7 separate regions of the Homo sapiens genome follow, and all the other regions are linked to region 1. The links are contacts of gene promoters, found by promoter capture Hi-C in blood cells and fetal thymus (Javierre and others, 2016). All regions are on one chromosome and are shown on one strand. The core of a region is centred on a gene start or on the middle of the fragment in contact, and the rest is flanking DNA. Distances in the headings are between cores, read along the strand shown.

Evidence for each region. Contacts are between HindIII fragments. The CHiCAGO score rates a contact against its expected background, and 5 or more counts as called.
Region 2: a contact is called between a fragment that was not itself captured here and the fragment with the promoter of ZNF155 in region 1, in 1 of 17 cell types (M1 macrophages). The highest score is 5.1, in M1 macrophages.
Region 3: a contact is called between a fragment that was not itself captured here and the fragment with the promoter of ZNF155 in region 1, in 5 of 17 cell types (total B cells, naive CD8 T cells, total CD4 T cells and 2 more). The highest score is 5.9, in total B cells.
Region 4: a contact is called between a fragment that was not itself captured here and the fragment with the promoter of ZNF155 in region 1, in 5 of 17 cell types (M2 macrophages, naive CD8 T cells, total CD4 T cells and 2 more). The highest score is 6.7, in M2 macrophages.
Region 5: a fragment that was not itself captured here is called in contact with the fragment with the promoter of ZNF155 in region 1 in 8 of 17 cell types (naive CD8 T cells, total CD4 T cells, non-activated CD4 T cells and 5 more); the score reaches 7.3 in naive CD8 T cells.
Region 6: a contact is called between a fragment that was not itself captured here and the fragment with the promoter of ZNF155 in region 1, in 12 of 17 cell types (total B cells, monocytes, non-activated CD4 T cells and 9 more). The highest score is 11.3, in total B cells.
Region 7: the fragment with the promoter of ZNF285 here is called in contact with the fragment with the promoter of ZNF155 in region 1 in 11 of 17 cell types (erythroblasts, monocytes, total B cells and 8 more); the score reaches 8.6 in erythroblasts.

What each region holds. Positions count from the first base shown.
Region 1 is chr19:43,982,907-43,985,606 of GRCh38, reverse strand. It overlaps ZNF155 (zinc finger protein 155), which reads right to left and starts at 1,419. Exons shown (of 5, transcript NM_198089.3): 1 at 1,362-1,419. RefSeq lists a silencer at 1,523-1,722. The HindIII fragment of the contact is 8,717 bases long and covers 1-2,700 here.
Region 2 is chr19:44,354,352-44,357,051 of GRCh38, reverse strand. It overlaps ZNF112 (zinc finger protein 112), which reads left to right and starts at 372. Exons shown (of 4, transcript NM_013380.4): 1 at 372-426. RefSeq lists an enhancer at 63-563. The HindIII fragment of the contact is 679 bases long and covers 913-1,591 here.
Region 3 is chr19:44,273,195-44,275,894 of GRCh38, reverse strand. ZNF233 (zinc finger protein 233) reads right to left here. Exons shown (of 5, transcript NM_001207005.2): 5 at 578-2,700. The coding sequence ends at 1,222. Among named protein-coding and RNA genes, the nearest start is that of ZNF233, 15 kb to the right of the region's middle. The HindIII fragment of the contact is 2,200 bases long and covers 340-2,539 here.
Region 4 is chr19:44,333,126-44,335,825 of GRCh38, reverse strand. All of the region lies in intron 3 of ZNF112 (zinc finger protein 112), which reads left to right. Among named protein-coding and RNA genes, the nearest start is that of ZNF112, 22 kb to the left of the region's middle. The HindIII fragment of the contact is 4,114 bases long and covers 1-2,700 here.
Region 5 is chr19:44,294,454-44,297,153 of GRCh38, reverse strand. The region is part of intron 4 of ZNF235 (zinc finger protein 235); the gene reads left to right. It also overlaps the pseudogene NDUFA3P1. Among named protein-coding and RNA genes, the nearest start is that of ZNF235, 9.2 kb to the left of the region's middle. The HindIII fragment of the contact is 6,273 bases long and covers 1-2,700 here.
Region 6 is chr19:44,486,157-44,488,856 of GRCh38, reverse strand. The region is part of intron 2 of ZNF180 (zinc finger protein 180); the gene reads left to right. Among named protein-coding and RNA genes, the nearest start is that of ZNF180, 13 kb to the left of the region's middle. The HindIII fragment of the contact is 7,682 bases long and covers 1-2,700 here.
Region 7 is chr19:44,400,257-44,402,956 of GRCh38, reverse strand. ZNF285 (zinc finger protein 285) reads left to right here and starts at 1,349. Exons shown (of 4, transcript NM_152354.6): 1 at 1,349-1,389. RefSeq lists an enhancer at 1,196-1,952. The HindIII fragment of the contact is 3,728 bases long and covers 1-1,696 here.

The DNA of each region.
Region 1 (2,700 bases), core at 170-2,669:
ATCGCGCCACTGCACTCTAGCCTGGGCGACAGAGCGAGACTCCGTCTCAGGAAAAAAAAAAAAAAAAAAAAAAGAAAAAGAGCAATACCTTTCCACAGAGCCATGGTGTGGCGTAAATGTATTTATTTCCATAAAGCCCTTAGAATTAAGTTACCAATTAAGGTTTAATTATTATCAACACCCATGCCCAAGGACACATCCTATACACTCTTGGTTGAGGTGAACATCTCTGTAAAAGAAAAAACCGGCCCGGCGCGGTGGCTCACACCTGTAATTCCAGCACTTTGGGAGGCCGAGGCAGGCGGATCACTTAGGACCACAGGTTCGAGACCAGCCTGGCCAACATGGTGAAACCCCGTCTCTACTAAAAATACAAAAATTAGCCGGGCATGGTGACGCATGCCTGTAATCCCAGCTACTCCGGAGCTGAGGACAGAGAATCGCTTGAACCCAGGAGGCGGAGGTTGCAGTGAGCCAAGATCGCGCCACTGCTGCACTCCAGCCTGGGAGACAGAGCAAACCTCATTCTCAAATAATAACAATAATAAAAACAGACTAACAAAATAAATAACTTTTTTTTAAAAAGAGAAAAGCCAAAGACCACTCGTGTAGACAGCTTTGTCCTCAGTAGCCAAGTCCCTCCCTGCAGCTCTTTTAGAAAAGTCAGGCTGGGGAAGGAGAAAGCTGTCAAACACTCTGCGTCGCCGTCCCGGATACAAGTTAAATGCTCCTCTCCCTTCGTGAAACGTGGATGCAACCCACGCCTTCCTAAAAAGAGGTCAGAGGCGTCCGGGATCATCCAGAGCCCTGCCGGGCTCCAAGAGAAGGGCCGGAGCAGCTGGAGCTCTGACCCCACCCGGGCACCTGACCACTTCGCGGGAAATTAACAGGACACCAAGTGACAGGAGCTGTTAAGTCTTTGTTTTATACCACAACTTTCAACTCCTAAAACAATTCTATCAGGATGGTCCTGAAATCCTCATTTAAAAAACGGCAATGGGAGGTACAGGGAGATTAAGTAACACCCCACGTTATATCGCGAGAAAGAGGTCGCACACTTAAGAGTGGAGGGAGGCGGACTGAACGAGGTCAAACACCTGGAAAACCCTCTAAACAGGCACACAAGACTAGACAGAGTTCTTCCCCGCCCCCCCCGAACCCCCGACGACTCCTCCGGTGGACCTGAGTACAGCCCCCAACGCCAGAAGGCTCCATCGACGGCAACGAAACTTCCCTCCCACCCCTCGCATCTCCAAACCTCAGGTCTTCTCCAGGGCTTCTTACCCCCTTAGTTGACCCCCCAGGTCGTTAGGCGCCCCTAATAACTGGTTCACTTTCGCAAAGACCCGCAAGACACATACTTGGCTCAAACCACCTTGTTAAGTAGCAGTGTCCTGCTCGGAGACCGGAAGTGTCGATGATGCCACAGGCGTCTGGACTACACTTCCCAGAATCCCCCGAATCCGCCTGCCTGAGCCAAAGTTCCCACGACTCCACAGAGCAAATGGACTCCACTTCCCAGAATTCACAGGTCCTCCTGCCTGGGCCAAAATTCCCACGCCTCCCAAGCTACTCGCGAAACGCCTGCGGGAGCCAAATTTCCTGCGCATCGACCGGGCAATTAGACTCCCGCAGGCGTTTCGCTGGTATCTTGGGAAATGGAGTCCATTTGCTCTGTGGAGGCGTGAGAATTTTGGCTCAGGCAGGTGGACCTGTGAATTCTGGCCTATCAACCTATATTTTTATTTTAAAAAAATGGAGTCTCATGTTCTATATCAATTTTTCTAAACTAAAAAAGAATACTTTTCATGGTTTTCTTTAGATAAAGTGACTGTGCCAACCACAGTATGAGGAACACTTCTCTGAAAATTGAGTGACTGCTATTTCTAAACCAGTTACAGCTGTATCCTTGCTCTGTTCTGCCCTCCCAAGAGATAAAAATTTATTGACACGCTCAATCGTAGTAGGCAGGAAACTGTGCCTAATATATTAGGGTATATCTGGCATCAAAGGCCCTTTCTGTCCCCCAGGTCCTTGCACTCTGGGCCTGTGATGGGAGGAGAAGCTGCCATAATCTGTGAAATGCCTTTGGGGTCATTCTTCCATTGTCTTGGACAATAGGTCCTGGCTTCAGTTGACATGGCCAATCCATACTAAATTCATGAATTAGTTAGTTGCTTAACCATACCCTTGTATTCTTCAGGTTTCCTGTTTTTTTTTTTTTCCAAAGTAGATAGGCTGTAAACTTTTAAAAATTTTAGTTCTGTTTCCCTTTTAATTAATAATTATTTCAGTCATTCCTCACTTCGTGCCTTTCACTACGGGTAGTCAAGATGATTCAAGCAACTTCAACACTTTGATTAGAAATTAATTCAGATAAACAATTATATCATTCACAAATTCTACCTTCCATAAAACACTAGCACCTGAATATAATTCAGCCAAATTCTTTGTCCCTTTATAACAAGAAGCTCTCTTCTCTTCCAATAACATGTTCAACATTTCTGACTGAGGTCTTCAGAATGGCCTTTACTGTCCATATTTCTACCAACATTCTGATCATGACTACCTAGGTATGCTCTAACAAGATTGATGTTTTCTCTACAGTTCTTATTCTCTATTTCTGAGCGCTAACCAGAATTGTCCTTATCAGTCCATTCATGGCAATGTAGGCTTTTCCTAGCATACATGTAAAAACTC
Region 2 (2,700 bases), core at 3-2,502, 370 kb before region 1:
AATTGTCCAGAAGATCCACAGGGTCAGAGACACACGCGCCAGGAAAGGCGCCTTTCATGCACGGTCCGCTGGGTAAAACAGAGAAATATATATACGAGCTCTCTGTCTTTGGAAGCATTTCGGTTCCAGGAAGGGGGAGTTAAGGAATTCCTTTGGGACCGGCACATGTGAAATATCATCCAGGCTCTCAGCTTGGCACCCGGTACTTGCGTCCTAGGCAGGCAGATAAGTGGAGAGTTTTTCTAGGAATTCTGGGAAATGTAGTTTGGGAGCCCCGTGTAGTCGGGTAACTTCCGCTCTAGGAGGCTGAGGCCGTCTCCCTGATCCCGTCGGGAATTCTGGGAAGCGTAGTCCAGGAGGTCTCGGTAGGCAGAGCCACTTCCGCCCCAGGTACGCTAGGCCGCGGCCTTCGTTCCTCCCAGAAAGGTGAGCGCTCCCCGCCCTGCTTCCTGCTCCTTCCGTCCATACTGATGTTCGTTTTGTTGGGGTCCAGTAGCAACCGGGCAGTAGCTCTAGGGGAGGATAATCCACTTGCGGCGAAGGGCGGGATTTGTGTTATCTTTGAATGAGCCTTCTCCAGTGTGGGGCAGCTGGCGCATCCCCACTTAGCGCCGGGGGTCCAAGATCCTACATCGCAGGGACTGGGGATCTCCTGGGTTCTGTACTTCCCCAGCCCTTTCCCCTGACCATCAACCAGCTCTGCCACTTCCTAGCAGTATAATAACAGGCGAGTATCTTAATCTCTCTGCCTATGTTTCTTTTTCTTTAAAATGGTACTAGTATCTATCTAATGGAGTTCTTTTGAGAGTTAAATAAAAAGACTTGGAACAGAGCCTGACAGGTGGTAGAAGATGGGTCTCTTGTTATTAGCACTTTTTAATTTTCTGAGAAGGACTCAGTTCCCTGAAAGCTTCTGTGAACCCAGGATGGGGTCAGAGCTCCAGCTGCAGAGTATCCCTGGCCCTTTTCTGATCACTGAGAGATTTTTCTTTAGGACAGGATCACTCCTGGCTGTCTGGGTAGTCCATTGTAATTCATGCAGGAGTTCTGATTTCCCCCATCCTCCTTTCCTTCTTTAGCCTTGACTTCTTGAAAAAGGCTGCAGGGAGAAGGAGGGAATGACCCTTTGGCACTTGGCAGCGGAGTCTCACCTGAGTAGTACTTATCATCCTTTCTTTTCAGGGAAGACGATATTTCCATCATTCACTGGCAAATTCTGCTCGAAGATGCGCTGATATTTGTTCAATAAATGCAGAAACGGATGAGGGAGTACTTGGGCATGAGTAATAAAGATAGTATTTAAACATTTAGTGCTGATCATTCTAAGAGTTTGATATGAATTAACATCTTTAATCCTCACAAGAGCCCTTTGAGCCTGGGTTGGGTACCACCATTCCCATTTTAAAGATAAGCAAACAGACATAGAGCATAGGTGGTTTATCTTTAGGTCACCCAGGTGGTAAGAGCCTGAGCTGGGATTTGAATTCAAATAGTTTCCATCCATTGCCTTAGTTCTTGATGTGTTTAGTATCAGCTTCAGAACACATATTTGGATTTTACTAGAGGACCGTGAAAGCAAGGTTAATAAGCTTTGAATTTTTGATTTTTTAAAATTATCTGTAATTTAATTTTATTTGAAATATTTATAGTTCATATTCTGATTATATAAATTATTGCATATTGTAAAAGATTAAGAAAGTATAGAAAGTGTAAAAGAAAAAAATTATGCTAACCACAAGATATAACAGTAACAATATTAATATTTCAATGTTTTCCTCTTCCAGTAGACTTCTTTTTGGATTTTCACCCATGTTTAACCAAATAGGCTTCATAGCTTTTATTTTTCCCTTAAGTTTTTACTATGGAAATTTGTAAGCATAGCCAAATGTAATATGACTAAAATAATTCTGTGGAAGCGTCACCCAGCTTCAACCTTTGTTAACATTTGCCAGTCTTGTATCAACTCCCTGTCCCTTTTTTTTTTGTTTCAGTATTTTAAAGCAAATCTCTAACATCGACTTAGTATAATATCGTTTGATTGATTGTCATAATTGCCAAACGTTGATGATCATAAATTGCTTATATCCAAGACTTTGAAAGGGAAATGCCAGCAGCTACTCTAAGGTTTTCATTCGTTGAAGCTTACAGAATGGTCCTTACTTGAGGAAGCTAGGGGATGCAAGAGAATTGTACCTTGGAGAAGGATGGTGATGAATTTTGTGTTCCAGTATAGAGTTTGCCTTGCCTAAGTCTTATAGCTCTTTGTTTCTTATTTCTCTTTATCTAAATCCATACACTGAAAGTTCTTCTATTTCTGGGACCATGTCATACTTTTCTCCATGTGCCCAGCACATCGTACAAGGTTGTTAAGGGTTTATGGTTAGAGTAGCTACTCAACAGACAGCTGGCATCAAGGATTTGCAGTGTGGAATTGGAATTAGGTATCAAAATAGAATAGAAATAACCCCTGGATATATTCCTTAATCTCACTTAATATTGGTAGGTTATATAATCCACCAACTATTTCAGAGTATTGAAGAGTTGAAGAGCAATGATTGGTTATGTTTTGATAATCTAAAAAAATTCCTAAGAAACAAATTGTTAGAAATGGTAACAACATTTATAGACCATGCCTTATAACTGAGGTTGTGTTTCCAGGTTTTTAAAACAGGTTTTTAAAAAATGTTTTTACAGTGACAT
Region 3 (2,700 bases), core at 190-2,689, 290 kb before region 1:
TTTATTTTTTCTTTTTCATTTATTGGCCCTGTATTTCTGATGGTAGCATGAAATGAGGTATCATGGAACTTAAGTATTCATTGTCCTGGAAGGTAAGGTCCAGGACAAAAAAAAAAAAACAACAGTGGGAAACTTTCTCCCACCTCCACTAAATATACACCTGAGTAAACCCTTCATCCAATTACTATGATTTGATCATTACACACTGCATAACGTGTAATGATGTCTGAGAAGTATGGGGTGTTGTCCAAAATGCTGTGTCCTTAACAGCTTAGTTTAACATCTAAAATGCATGCCATATGATATTCCCCTTTTTTGCAAAACCTTTCTCATGAAGCTTTATGGAACTAAAAACCAGTTGGGATTTTTTTCTTCATTCAGTCTGTTTCTATCACACTAGCTCCCAAAAAGAAAGATAGCAAAAGCCCCCGCCAAAGAAACATAGCACAGCTGTACACTGTATGGAAAAAGTCTTAAATAATCAGATAGAAACTTTGGCCTATTATACTGCTTGGAAAATGAAGCTGAACTGAGGACAGAAGCCAATTGCAAAAACATTACTCAGATTGTAGACTGCTTGGTTTTATGTGTTTTAATTAAATGTCATTTCCTTGAATTCATTTTAAGGCTTCTTGCAAGAATCCTTTTCCCAGTACAATTATAATGACGAATTGGGGCTGAGCTCACTAAAATATTCAAATATATGTCCTATATATGATAGATTTTTCCTATCAAGTTAAACAATTCCAGGGAAGCCACTATTTCTTAGGTACTTGTTCAAGGTCACGATCATGCAGCAGTAAACAATGTTCCTGCATGGAGCTTAGATTCTAGTGGACACAGATTTTGTCATGTCCCTCATTATACTTTTGCTAAATTCTGACCTTACTTATCATTTTGAAGGCTTCACTCCTGCATATTGCTTATTGGATGTGAAGGTTCTGATTGAAACATATTGTATCATTCTTTATAGGGTTTCTCTGTTGTGTGTTCTCTTGACAACTGTGACATTTTGGGCTCTGCTTGAAACTGGTCATATTCATACAAAAATAGGTTTTCTTCAATGGAATTCAGATAACTATAAAAACTCAGCTCATGAATTCTTAAAACATGACATTTTATAAATATTCTGTGCTGTGTGGATTTTCTGAGGAAAATGGGAAGTCTAAGTCTTGAAGAGCACCCCTATCACACTCATCATGATTAATAGATTCATCACCATCATGGACTCTCTGATGAATCTGAAGACAACGAACTCTTACTAAAGCCCTTACCACACACAAAACATTTGTATGGTTTCTCTCCAGTATGGACTCTCTGATGGGCTTGAAGATGTGAAGTCTGACTGAAGCTCTTACCACACATGCCACATTTATAGGGTTTCTCTCCCGTGTGGATCCTCTGATGAACATGAAGATATGAGTTCCAGATGAAGCCTTTCCTACATTCTTCACATTTGTATGGTTTCTCTCCTGTGTGGACTCTCTGATGGGCTTGAAGATGTGAACTCCAACTGAAGCCTTTCCCACACACATCACATTTGTAGGGATTCTCTCCAGTATGGACTTGCTGATGGTCTTGGAGATGCGAACTCTGACTAAAGCCCTTCCCACATGTCTCACATTTGTATGGCTTCTCTCCTTTGTGAACTCTCTGATGGGCCTGAAGATGAGAGATCTGACTGAAGTCCTTCCCACATGTGTCACATTTGTAGGGTTTCTCTCCTGTATGGACTCTCTGATGGGCCTGAAGGTGGGAATTACGGCTGAAGTTCTTATCACACACATCACATTTGTAGGGTTTCTCTCCAGTGTGGATTCTCTGATGGGCTTGAAGATTTGAGGCCTTACTGAAGCCCTTATCACATACCTCACATTTATATGGTTTCTCTCCAGTGTGAACTCTCTGGTGAAGACCAGAATTCCTATTAAATATCCTGTCACTTACTTCCCATTTGTATGTCTTGTCTCTAGAGTGACCTCTCTGATGGGCTTGAAGTTGTGATGTCTGACTGAAGCCTTTATCATATACATCACATTTACAGGCTCTCTCTCCAGCACTGTCTACACAGTGAATGTCAAAATCTAAGCTATGATGGAAGCCCTTCCCACACCTGCCACATGTACACAACTTCTCTCCTGGGTGAGTAAGCTCATGAGAGGGAAGACAGGAGTTCTGGTTGGAGCTCCGGGCATATACCTGACATCTGTAGAGGTTCTCTCCTGTGCTGACTCTCTGATGAGGTTGCAGATGTGAGCCCTGACTGAAGCCCTCACCACTGTCACCATTCCTATAGCATTTCTCTCCTATGTGGAAACACTGATGCCTGGGAAGCCCTGAGCTGTAACCTATGCCCTTCCCGTACTCAACATTTACATGAGGCTTGTCTCTTAAGTGTAGTTGCTGGTGAAGTTCAAGATTAGAGCCAACACTTAAGCCTTTTCCATTTTCATCAGAGGTTTGCTCTCCTGATTGGATTATGCTATGCTGGGATGATTCCTTCACACAGTCTTTTCCACAATTATTGTGGCTAAAAGCTTTCTCTCTTTTGTGTACTCCATGATCATCATGTTGATGAGCAATTCTTTGCCTAACACAATGATCACATTTACAGAGCTTATTTTTTACATCAATTTGCTGACACCTACTCTGATAATTCTGTGGTTCTCTCAGATACATTTTCCTCCAGAAATCCCAGGT
Region 4 (2,700 bases), core at 95-2,594, 350 kb before region 1:
AGAAGAAAGAGTCAACAGAAAATTCAAAACAAATTAACTCATTTCTATAATGGTTTGTTTCCATCTTGGTTAAGATTCAGGGTCCTACATGGTACCCTTGAGAGTAGGAGTTAAACTTTTTCTCTAAAGGTCCAAGTAGTAAATACTTTAGATTTTCCTGGCCACATGTGCTCTTTGTCACAGTCTTTGTTTTTCTTACACCACTTTAAAAATGTAGAAAGCGTTCTTGGCTCCTGGGTTGTACAGAAACAGGCCGAGGCCATGCTGTGCCAGTCTACCTTCCTGATACTGTCAGCTGGAACATAATGTCACCTTTTAAAATACCTTAATTTTTTTACCTATACTAACATGATCATATACCTCATATTAATGTAAAAATTTGTTATGTACATTCTTGTTTTTAATATACTAATTTTTCTTCTTTGCCGTTACCTTGGGGAAATCCCTCCCAGTCTAAGATTATAACTCTTGTTTTTGTAATGGATGCATAATACTCTAATAAACAAACTAGTTACTTCCAAGATACAATGGGGCTACAGCCTTTGGGTAAATGCCCCCATTCTGAAAGGGAGAAATCAGGCAAAACAAAGGGGCTGCAGGCCCCATGCCAATCTGAAACCCAGCAGGGCAGTCATTAAATCTCAGAGTTCGAAAATAATCTCCTTTGACTCCATGTCTCACATCCAGGCATGCTGATGCAAGGGATGAGCTCCCAAGGCCTTGGGCATCTCTGCCTCTGTGGCTCTGCAGGGTATAGCCCACTTGGCTATTTTCATGAGCTGGCGTTGAGTGCCTGCATCTTTTCCAGGCACGTGGTGGAAGCTGTTGGTGGGTCTGGGGTCTGGAGGACGGTGGCCCTCTTCTCACAGCTCCACTAGGCAATGCCTCAGTGGGGACTCTGGGGGCTCCAACCCCACATTTCCCTTCTCCATTGACCTAGTAGAGGTTCTCCATGAGGGCTCCACCCCTGCAGCAGACTTCTGCCTGGACATCCAGGTGTTTCTATAAATCCTCTGAAATCTGGGCAGAGGTTCCCAAGCCTCAGCTCTTGCCCTCTGCACACCACAGGCCCAACAGTACGTGGAAGCTGCCAAGGCTTGGGGTTTGCACCCTCTGAAGCAATGGCCTGAGCTATACCTTGGCCCCTTTTAGCCATGGCTGGAACTGGAGCAGCTACAATGCAGGGTGCCGTGTCCTTCAGCTGTAGAAAACAGCAGGGCCCTGGGCCTGAGCCACAGAACTATTTTTCCCTCCTAGGCCTTCAGGCCTGTGGTAGGAGGGACTGTCATGACTGGCTCTGAAATGCCCTGGAGGCATTTTCCCCATTTTCTTGGCTATTAACATTCAGCTCCTCTTTACTTAGGCACATTTCTGCAGCCTTGAATTTCTCCCCAGAAAATTGGTTTTTCTTTTCTACCACATGATCAGGCTGCAAATTTTTCAAATTTTTATGCTCTGCTTCTTTTTTAAATATAAGTTCCAGTTTCAGATAATCTCTTTGCCCATAAATATGAGCATATGCTGTTAGAAGCAGCCAGACCACATCTTGAATGCTTTGCTGCTTAGAAATTTATTCCACCAGATAACCTAAATCATCCCTATCAAGTTCAAAGTTCCACAGATCTTTGGAGCAGAGGCATAATGCTGCCAGTCTCTTTGCTAAAGCATAGCACCAATGTTGGGAAAATGTATAAATGCATTTACAAACCTAAATATATCTAAATATATCACCAGTTCCAGTCCCCAATAACTTCCTCATCTCCATCTGAGACCACCTCAGCCTGGACTTCACTGTCCATATCACTATCCGTATTTTGTTCAAAACCATGTAACAATTCTCTAGGAGATTCCAAACTTTCCCTCATCTTCCTGTCTTCTTCTGAACCCTCCAAATTATTACAACCTCTGCCCATTACCTGTTTCCAAAGTGACTTCCACGTTTTCAGGTATCTTTATAGCAATGCCCCACTTTTCTGGTACCAATTTTCTTTATTCGTCCATTCTCCCATTGCTGTAAAGAACTACCTGAGACCAGGTAATTTATAAAGAAAAGAGGTTTAATTGACTCATGGTTCCATAGGCTATACAGGAAGCATGGCTGGGGAGGCCTCAGGAAACTTATAAATATGGCAGATGGTGAAGGGGAAGGAGGCATGTTTTACATGGCAGAGAAAGAGGAAGAGAAAGAGGGCAGGAAGTGCTACATGCTTTCAAACAACCAGATCTCTTGAGAACTCTGTCACGAGACAGCACTTGGGGGATGGTGCTAAACCATTAGAAAGCACCCCCATGATCCAATCACCTCCCACCAGGCCTCAACTCCAACACTGGGAATTACAATTCAACATGAGATTTGGGTGGGGACGCAGAGCGAAACCATATCAGTGGTTAAGAAAGGAGTCAGCACAGCAGCTTAAATATTTGTGATCAAAACATTGTCACCACTATACCTTGTATTGTCTCTATCTAAAAGCGAAGTAAGAACGGAAGGTGATCTCAGCCTGGGTAACCTGAGCTGATGTTCTCGCTTAGCTTTTATTAAAGAAGAAGAAGAAGAAGACATAAACAAAGATTTTTTTTCTCTGAGTTCATTATAGCTAACTATTAAATTCAAAGGAATTACTTGTCTTTATGACAAATATAGCACCTTTGTTATTGAATTGATCAATTTGGGTTGCTTGAATCATTGACTTTCTCAAC
Region 5 (2,700 bases), core at 193-2,692, 310 kb before region 1:
GGCTGCTTGGCCCAGGCATTCCTGAAGAAGGCAGCAAGTCTTGCAGCCATCTTGGTCTTGGTAATGGCGATGGCTTGTTACTTTTTTCATTTCCTTAAGGTATAAGGTTATGATGTTGATTTGAGACCTTTTTCCTTTTCATTGTAACCATTTATAGCTATAGATTTCCCCCTTAGCACTGTTTTTGCAGTGGATTCGTTTTCATTTATCCCAAGATATTTTCTAGTTTCCCCTGTGATTTCTTCTTTGATCTATTGGTTGTATGTGTATTGTTGAATTTTCACATATTTATGGAATTTTCAGGTTTTATTCTGCTATTCATTGCTAGTTTCATTTCATTTTGATCAGCAGAGATACTTTGTGTGATTTTAATATTTTTATATTTATTAAGGCTTTTTTGTAGTTTAACATATGGTGTATCCTAGAAAATGTTCTGTATGTACTTCAGAAAAATGTGTATTCTGCTGTTATTGGGTGGAGTGTTCTGTATAATCATAGTCTACGTGTATATATTTGTTAGGTCCATATACTTCAAAAATGTATAAAACATAGAAAATTGATTAATTCTAAAATTGCTTATGTCCTTTGTTAAGATATCATCTAATCCACCAAACTGAGGGAGATATGTGACAAAAATGACTTAGTAGGATGCCATTTGTAATCCCACCATTCAGTTCAGTTTTAACATTCATTTTACATCTTTTTCTGTTAATGAAAATTGACTGATAGTTTAAATGGATAATTTCTGCTTCTCCACCCTTCCCCCAACATACACATAATTTGGATGACCTATTTGTTTTCCTATGACTTTAAACTTTTTATTTTGAAAACTTAAAAAACATAGAAAAGTAAATAATGCCATAGACTCTGTATATCCATACTGTCTTAGCAGTTATCAACTTTCTGCTGTTCCTGTTTTATCTTTCCCTTTTATTTTTTGCTGGAGAATGTCATATCACCCATAGATTTATCAGTGTCTATCTACAACAGTAACTCCTTATTGTCACTTACTATCCATTTTATAATCAGTATGGGCTCATATGTATTTATTTATACTTCGTGTTATAATCCAGTATTGCATTGTTTATTTTGTTACCAAGTTATTTCTACTTTGACCACTTGGAGCTTTTTCAGGTTGCCTCCTGTGGTTGAAATCACCAGTGATTTCTAGAAATGCAAATTAAAACAATGGTGAGATATCATCTTATACCAGCCAGAATGGCTATTATTAGAATCTGTTATGGATCTCTGGAGATCTCAGGTAATGAACTCAAGATGGATTAAATAGCACCATTTATTCAATAGGATGTCCTTTCCCCAGTGTATGTTTTTTTCGACTTTATCAAAGATCAGTTGGCTGTAGGTATGTGACTTATTTCTGGGTTCTCTTTTCTATTCCATTGATCTGTGTATCTATTTTTATATCAGTACGATGCTGTTTTGGTTACTATAGCCATGTAGTGTAATTTGAAGTCAGGTAATGTAATGCCTCCAGCTTTGTTATTTGCTTAGGATTGCTTTGTCTATTCAGGCTCTTTTTTGGTTCCATATGAATTTTAGAATTGTTTTTCCTCATTCTGCAAAAAATGACATTAGTATTTAGATAGCCATTGCATTGAATTTGTAGATTGCTTTGGGCAGTATGGTCTTTTTAACAATATTGATTCTGCCGATCCATGAACATGGGATGTTTTTCCATTTTTTTTATGTCATCTACAACTTCTTTCATTATTGTTTCATAATTTTCCTTGGTTAGATCTTTCCCTTCCTTGGTTAAATACATTCCTAGGTATTTTAATTTTTTTGTAGATACTATAAATTGGATTGTGTTCTTGATTTGGTTTTTAGCCTGATCATTATTGTCGTATAGAAATGCTACTGACTTTTGTATATTGATTTTTTTTAATCCTGAAACTTTATTGAAGTCATTTGTCAAATCTAGGATTCTTTTGGAGGAGTCTTTAGGGATTTGTAGGTATAAGATCAGATTGTCAGAAAACAGAGATATTAAATGACTTACTCTTTTCCAATTTAGATTGGTTTTCTGTCTTTCTCTTGCCTGATTACTTTGGCTAGGACTTCCAGTGGTACGTGAAATAGGAGTGGTGAAAGTGGGCAATCCTTGTTTTATTCCAGTTCTTAGGGGGAATGCTTTCAGCTTTTCCCCATTCAGTATGTTACCTATGGGTTGTCATATATGGCTTTTATTATTTTGAAATATGTTTCTTCTGTGCCTAGTTTGTCAAAGGTTTTTATCATGAGAGGATGCTGAATTTTGTCAAATGGTTTTTATATATCTGTTGAGATGATCATGTGGTTTTTGTTTTTAATTCTGTTTATAGGCTGAATCACATTTATTGGTTTGTGTATGTTGAACCATTCTCGCATCCTTGGAATAAAACCCACTCGATCATGGTGGCTTATCTTTTTGATGTGCTATTAGATTTGGTTTGGGGGGTTTTGTGGGGGGATTTGTGTTTGTTTTTGGAGGATTTTTGCATCTACATTCATCAGGGATATTGCTCTGTAGTTTTCTTTTTTTGTTGTGTCTTTATCTGACTTTGGTATCAGAGCAAGAGTGGCTTTCTAGAATGAGTTAGGGAGGATTCTCTCCTCTTAGATTTTTTGAAAGAGTTTTAGTAGAATTGGTACCAGTTCTTTGTACCTTTTGTGGAATTCCAGTGTACCTTTGTCTGGTCC
Region 6 (2,700 bases), core at 109-2,608, 500 kb before region 1:
CACCTCCCAGACGGGGTTGCGGCCGGGCAGAGGTGCTCCTCACTTCCTAGATGGGATGGCCGCCGGGCAGAGACGCTCCTCACTTTCCAGACTGGGCAGCCAGGCAGAGGGGCTCCTCACATCCCAGACAATGGGCAGCCAGGCAGAGACGCTCCTCACTTCCCAGACGGGGTGGCAGCTGGGCAGAGGCTGCAATCTTGGCACTTTGGGAGGCCAAGGCAGGCAGCTGGGAGGTGGAGGTTGTAGCGAGCCGAGATCACGCCACTGCACTCCAGCCTGGGCACCATTGAGCACTGAGTGAACGAGACTCCGTCTGCAATCCCAGCACCTTGGGAGGCCGAGGCTGGCGGATCACTCAGGTTAGGAGCTGGAGACCAGCCCGGCCAACACAGCGAAACCCCGTCTCCACCAAAAAAATACGAAAACCAGTCAGGCGTGGCGGCGCACGCCTGCAATCGCGGGCACTCGGCAGGCTGAGGCAGGAGAATCAGGCAGGGAGGTTGCAGTGAGCCGAGATGGCAGCAGTACAGTCCAGCTTCGGCTCGGCATCAGAGGGAGACCGTGGAAAGAGAGGGAGAGGGAGACCGTGGAAAGAGAGGGAGAGGGAGACCGTGGAAAGAGAGGGAGAGGGAGAGGGAGACCGTGGAAAGAGAGGGAGAGGGAGACCGTGGAAAGAGAAGGAGAGGGAGACCGTGGAAAGAGAGGGAGAGGGAGACCGTGGAAAGAGAAGGAGAGGGAGACCGTGGAAAGAGAGGGAGAGGGAGACCGTGGGGAGAGGGAGAGGGAGAGGGCAAGGGCGAGGGCGAGGGCGTCAAGTTTATTTTTAAAAGTAGTCTGGGCACGGTGGCTCACGCCTGTAATCCCAGCACTTTGGGAGGCCAGTGTGGGCAGATCACAAGGTCAAGAGGTCAAGACCATCCTGGCCAACATGGTGAAACCCCATCTCTACAAAAAATACAAAAATTAGCTGGGCGTGGTGATGTGCGCCTGTAGTCCCAGCTACTTAGGAGGCTGAGGCAGGAGAGTCACTTGAACCCCGGAGGTGGAGGTTGCAGTGAGTTGAGATCATGCCACTGCACTCCAGCCTGGGGACAGCGCGAGACTCTGTCTCAAAACCAAAACCAAAACAAACAAACAAACAAAAAAGTAAAAGAATAAGGAATGGCTACTCCATAAGCAGAGCAGCCCCAGGGGCTTCTGGTTGCCCATTTTTATGGTTATTTCTTGATTTTCTGCTAAACAAGGGGTGGATTATTCATGAGTTTTCCAGGACTGGGGTGGGCAATTCCCAGAACTGAGGGTTCCTCTCCTTTTTAGACCATAGAGGGTAACTTCCTGACAAAACTGTCATGGCGCTGAGACCAGCAGTTTGAGACCAGTCTGGGCAACATGACGAGACCCTGTCTTCTACAAAAAATAAAAAGGCAGTTTAACTGTTGTAGTATGTGTGGTAGTAATGCAAGCAACACAACCTCTTGGCTTTCACATTGGGCCTTCTTTACATTGCAGCAGCTCTGGCTCTTTGATACTTATTGTGAACCTCACAACCTACCCAGTAAATATACAGTGGTGTTTTTAGGTTTGGAGAATCCTTTCCTACCTTTAAATACATTAATGCTAGCCATTTTTAATAACCATTCCTACTGTAATAGTAAAATATTTTCTAGATAGATAAGGAGAAAAAATTGACACACTTATACCTTGACCTCTCCACATCAAGTGATCCTCCCATCTTTGCCTCCCAAGTAGCTGGGACTGTAGGCACATACCACCGTGCCTGGCTTATTTATTTATTTATTTATTTATTATTTTTTGAGATGGAGTCTCACTCTCTTGCCCAGGCTGGAGTGAAGTGGCATGGTCTCAGCTTGCTGCAAACTCCAACTTCCGGTTCAGGTGATTCTCATGCCTTAGCCTCCCAAGTAGCTGGGACTACAGGTATACCACACCTAGCTAATTTGTATTTTTTTGTATTTTTAGTAGAGATGGGGTTTCGCCATGTTGACCAGGCTGGTCTCGAACTCCTGAGTTCAGGCAATCTGCCCACCTCGGCCTCCCAAAGTGCTAGAATTACAGGTGTGAGCCACCATGCCCGGCCTATTTTATATATTTTGTATAGACAGGGGAGCCTCACTGTGTTGCTGAGGCTGGGCTCGAACTCCTGGGCTCAAGTGATCCTTCCACCTCAGCCTCCCAAAGCACTGTGATTACAGGTATGAACTGCTGCACCTGGCCACTTTTATTTTCTTTTAGTTTTTGATCCAATGGCTTCTAAAGAAATGAGTTATCAAAAATTAGCAGTAGTTGCTTTTCAGTGTTTGATTTGAGGAGGAGCAAAGTATCCTTGAATGGGCTATCATTTAACAGACTGAATTATTGTATCCTGTAGGAAAAAACCTGAGGACACTACAAAGGAATTGCGTTGTTTCAAGGTGATTTTTAAAGAGGGAAGCACCTTTCCTGGTTTCCAAATATTTAATTAAAATAAGTGGTTTTGAAAAACATGGATGCAGCATTAAAAGAGAGACAGTGAACCTGCTCCTCAGTTCTACCCCTTCAAAGAATAACTCCTTTTAATGCTTTTGAGAACATCTTTCCAGATTTTTCCGTGCATATTTATATTTTATAGAAATCTATTCATCTTCTGTATAATGTTCTTCATTTTTTCACTCAGCAATATATTATAGACATCTTTCTATT
Region 7 (2,700 bases), core at 100-2,599, 420 kb before region 1:
CACGCCCAGACTGGGAACCTTTTTGACATGCACTTTTCAATCGTTGACAGATGCATAATGAAAAAATCTAAGTAAGCACAAATAAGCATGTAGGAAATTTAAATAGCACAGTTAGCAAGTCTGGGGAAAATATAAATGTATGCATATCCATCTGATAGAGAAGACACATTGTTTTCCAACAGACACAGATGTCACAAAAATTAACCTTGTATTAGGTCAAAAATAAAAATGTTCCTGAACTCGTTTTTTAAAATTCAAGTATGTCAAATTAAATCAAGTAATCCTTCAACTTAGAGCAATATATAAGAACATCAAACATGTAAACATCAAAAGACAGAGATAAGCCAAAACAATTGCACTGTCCCTTTATGTGCCCTAAGCTGCGATGTCAAGCTATAGTTGGATATTATTCAACCATTTCCTGCCCATTGCGTAGAGGTGGGGGTCTTCACTTCTCTATCTAGTCTAGGACTGGAACCGCCTCACCACCCCTACAGCTTGAGGGTGCGTGGAAAAGGGAATGCCAGCCAGATATTCCAAACAGAGACTCTGCCAGCAGGACCAGGTGACCTTTCCTAGGAGACAGATTGTTCTCACACGTTATCAGGGCTTTCCTCCAGGCTAAAACTGTGGGCCTCTAATGGAATTCCTATTCAATTTTCTTACCCCATTTAGGGTACCCAAATTTTTCTTTAATAGAAATCTTAAATCTTAAATGCAATAACATGAAGTAAAATAAAGCCTAAGTCTCAACAAGGGCAAATTTTCAAAAAGAATCTGAAAACTTCCCGCGTTTTCTTGTTATGTTGTAATGTGTCTCTTTTAGGACACTCTCAGTACTCCTGCAATTCCCCTGTTAAGGATTCAGACAATAGTTGTTAATTCCTTCTGCTTCTTCTGAGACTAGGAAATAAATTACAGGGCTATGTTATATCGCAAGTGTAGATTATCCAGAGTTTTCATCAACAGAAATAAAACATGGTGGGGGGCGGGGAGGGAATTATTTAAGTGAGTGTTAATTGAAAAGTTTCGTGGTTTTAACGTTAAAAGACATGCCTATAAAATAAGAACTTATAAAAGTCTTCACTAAAACGGTAAAGTGCCCATTTCCAAGTAGTAAAATATTGAAACTTCTTTTCATCGTTGATAGTGATTTATTTAACATTTCATTATTTTATCGTTATTATGATTGTCGTTATTTTAGACGAATGCACGGAAGTCAAAGGACTTCCAAATGCACGGAAGTCAAAGGCCACCTTCACCAGGGTAGCCTTGCGAATGGCCACTGCTGCGCGCGGGGCTTTCTGGGGATTGTAGGCCATAGGCCTCCTTGCGCATGCGCCATGGTACTGGACGCACGCTGCGGGCGACATTGTTTGGGACGCTGGGGTGAGTCCCGTCTGTACCGCGCCCCTCTTGGAGGCGTAGCCAGGAGTAGGAGTGTAGGATGTGCAGCTGTGACCCGTCCCTGTGGACTGAAGTAGGAGGAGTGGAAGAGGGGACTGGTAACCAATGATAAGGCCTCGTAGGTGGGGTAGACTAGGGAAGTTCAGCGGCCCGACCTACCCGGGATAGGATGGGAAGAGCGTGGGCTCGAGCGTGGGCTCGGTTTGGGGAGCAGCCCTGGGTTTGACAAAACAGTGCATCTTCACGTTTCGTGACAGCGACTTGCGCTGTGCCTCCTCGGGTCGAAGCTTAGGGTCAGTCTTGGGATGTGCATCTCTGGATGAGGGCAGAGGGGCGCTGGCTCAGGGTTTTGGAGTAATGGCTGGACTGTGCGTCCCTGAATGGGATGAGGGATTTGCTTAAGCAGCTAGTCTCTGGATATAGAGGATGGCTTCGGCTGTTCTCGCTCAGTTTGGTGGGGGCGATTCTGGCTCAGCACCCCTAGGTTCTTGGATGGGGAGTTGTCTTGGGTCTGAACTCTGGATTTTGGCAGCTCTGACTCCATTGGGGCATTTATGACTTCAAGGCAGAGGTTCTGGCTTTTGGCAATAAAGAAACAACTCAGACTGTAATACTGTAATAACTCCAGAGTTTAATGTCACCGAATACATTTTGAAAAGAACTGTCCCAGGCCTGGCGCGGTGCCTCACGCCTGTAATCCCAGCACTTTGGGAGGCCAAAGTGGGCGGATCACGAGGTCAGGAGATCGAGACCATCCTGGCTAACACGGTGAAACCCCGTCTCTACTACAAAAAACAATTACAAAAAATTAGCCGGGCACGGTGGCAGGCGCCTGTAGTCCCAGCTACTCGGGAGGCTGAGGCAGGAGAATGGCGTGAACCCGGGAGGCGGAGCTTGCAGTGAGCTGAGATCACGCCACTGCACTCCAGCCTGGGCGACAGAGCCAGACTCTGTCTCAAAGAAAAAAGAAAAGAAAAGAACTGCCCCAAATTATTAACTCCATTCTCACCTCACATGCTGTGAGCCAGGGAGTAGGGACTTTGAGTATTATAAAGCACATTAGCAAATATAAGTTGTTAAATTACACTCAACAAATTTGAAGTTTGAACACTCTCTGTATATTTGATAAAGTTAGAGATTTAGTGTTAATTATTTTAGGTGTAATAGCAGCATTTATTACATTTCTGATCGTGTTTCTGGGCAATTGCAGTTCCAGATTCAGCTGCACTTTTCCTCTAGGTCTTCATTCCCTGAAGAAGTTGATATGGGCATCTGGTCTCATTCCTGATGCAT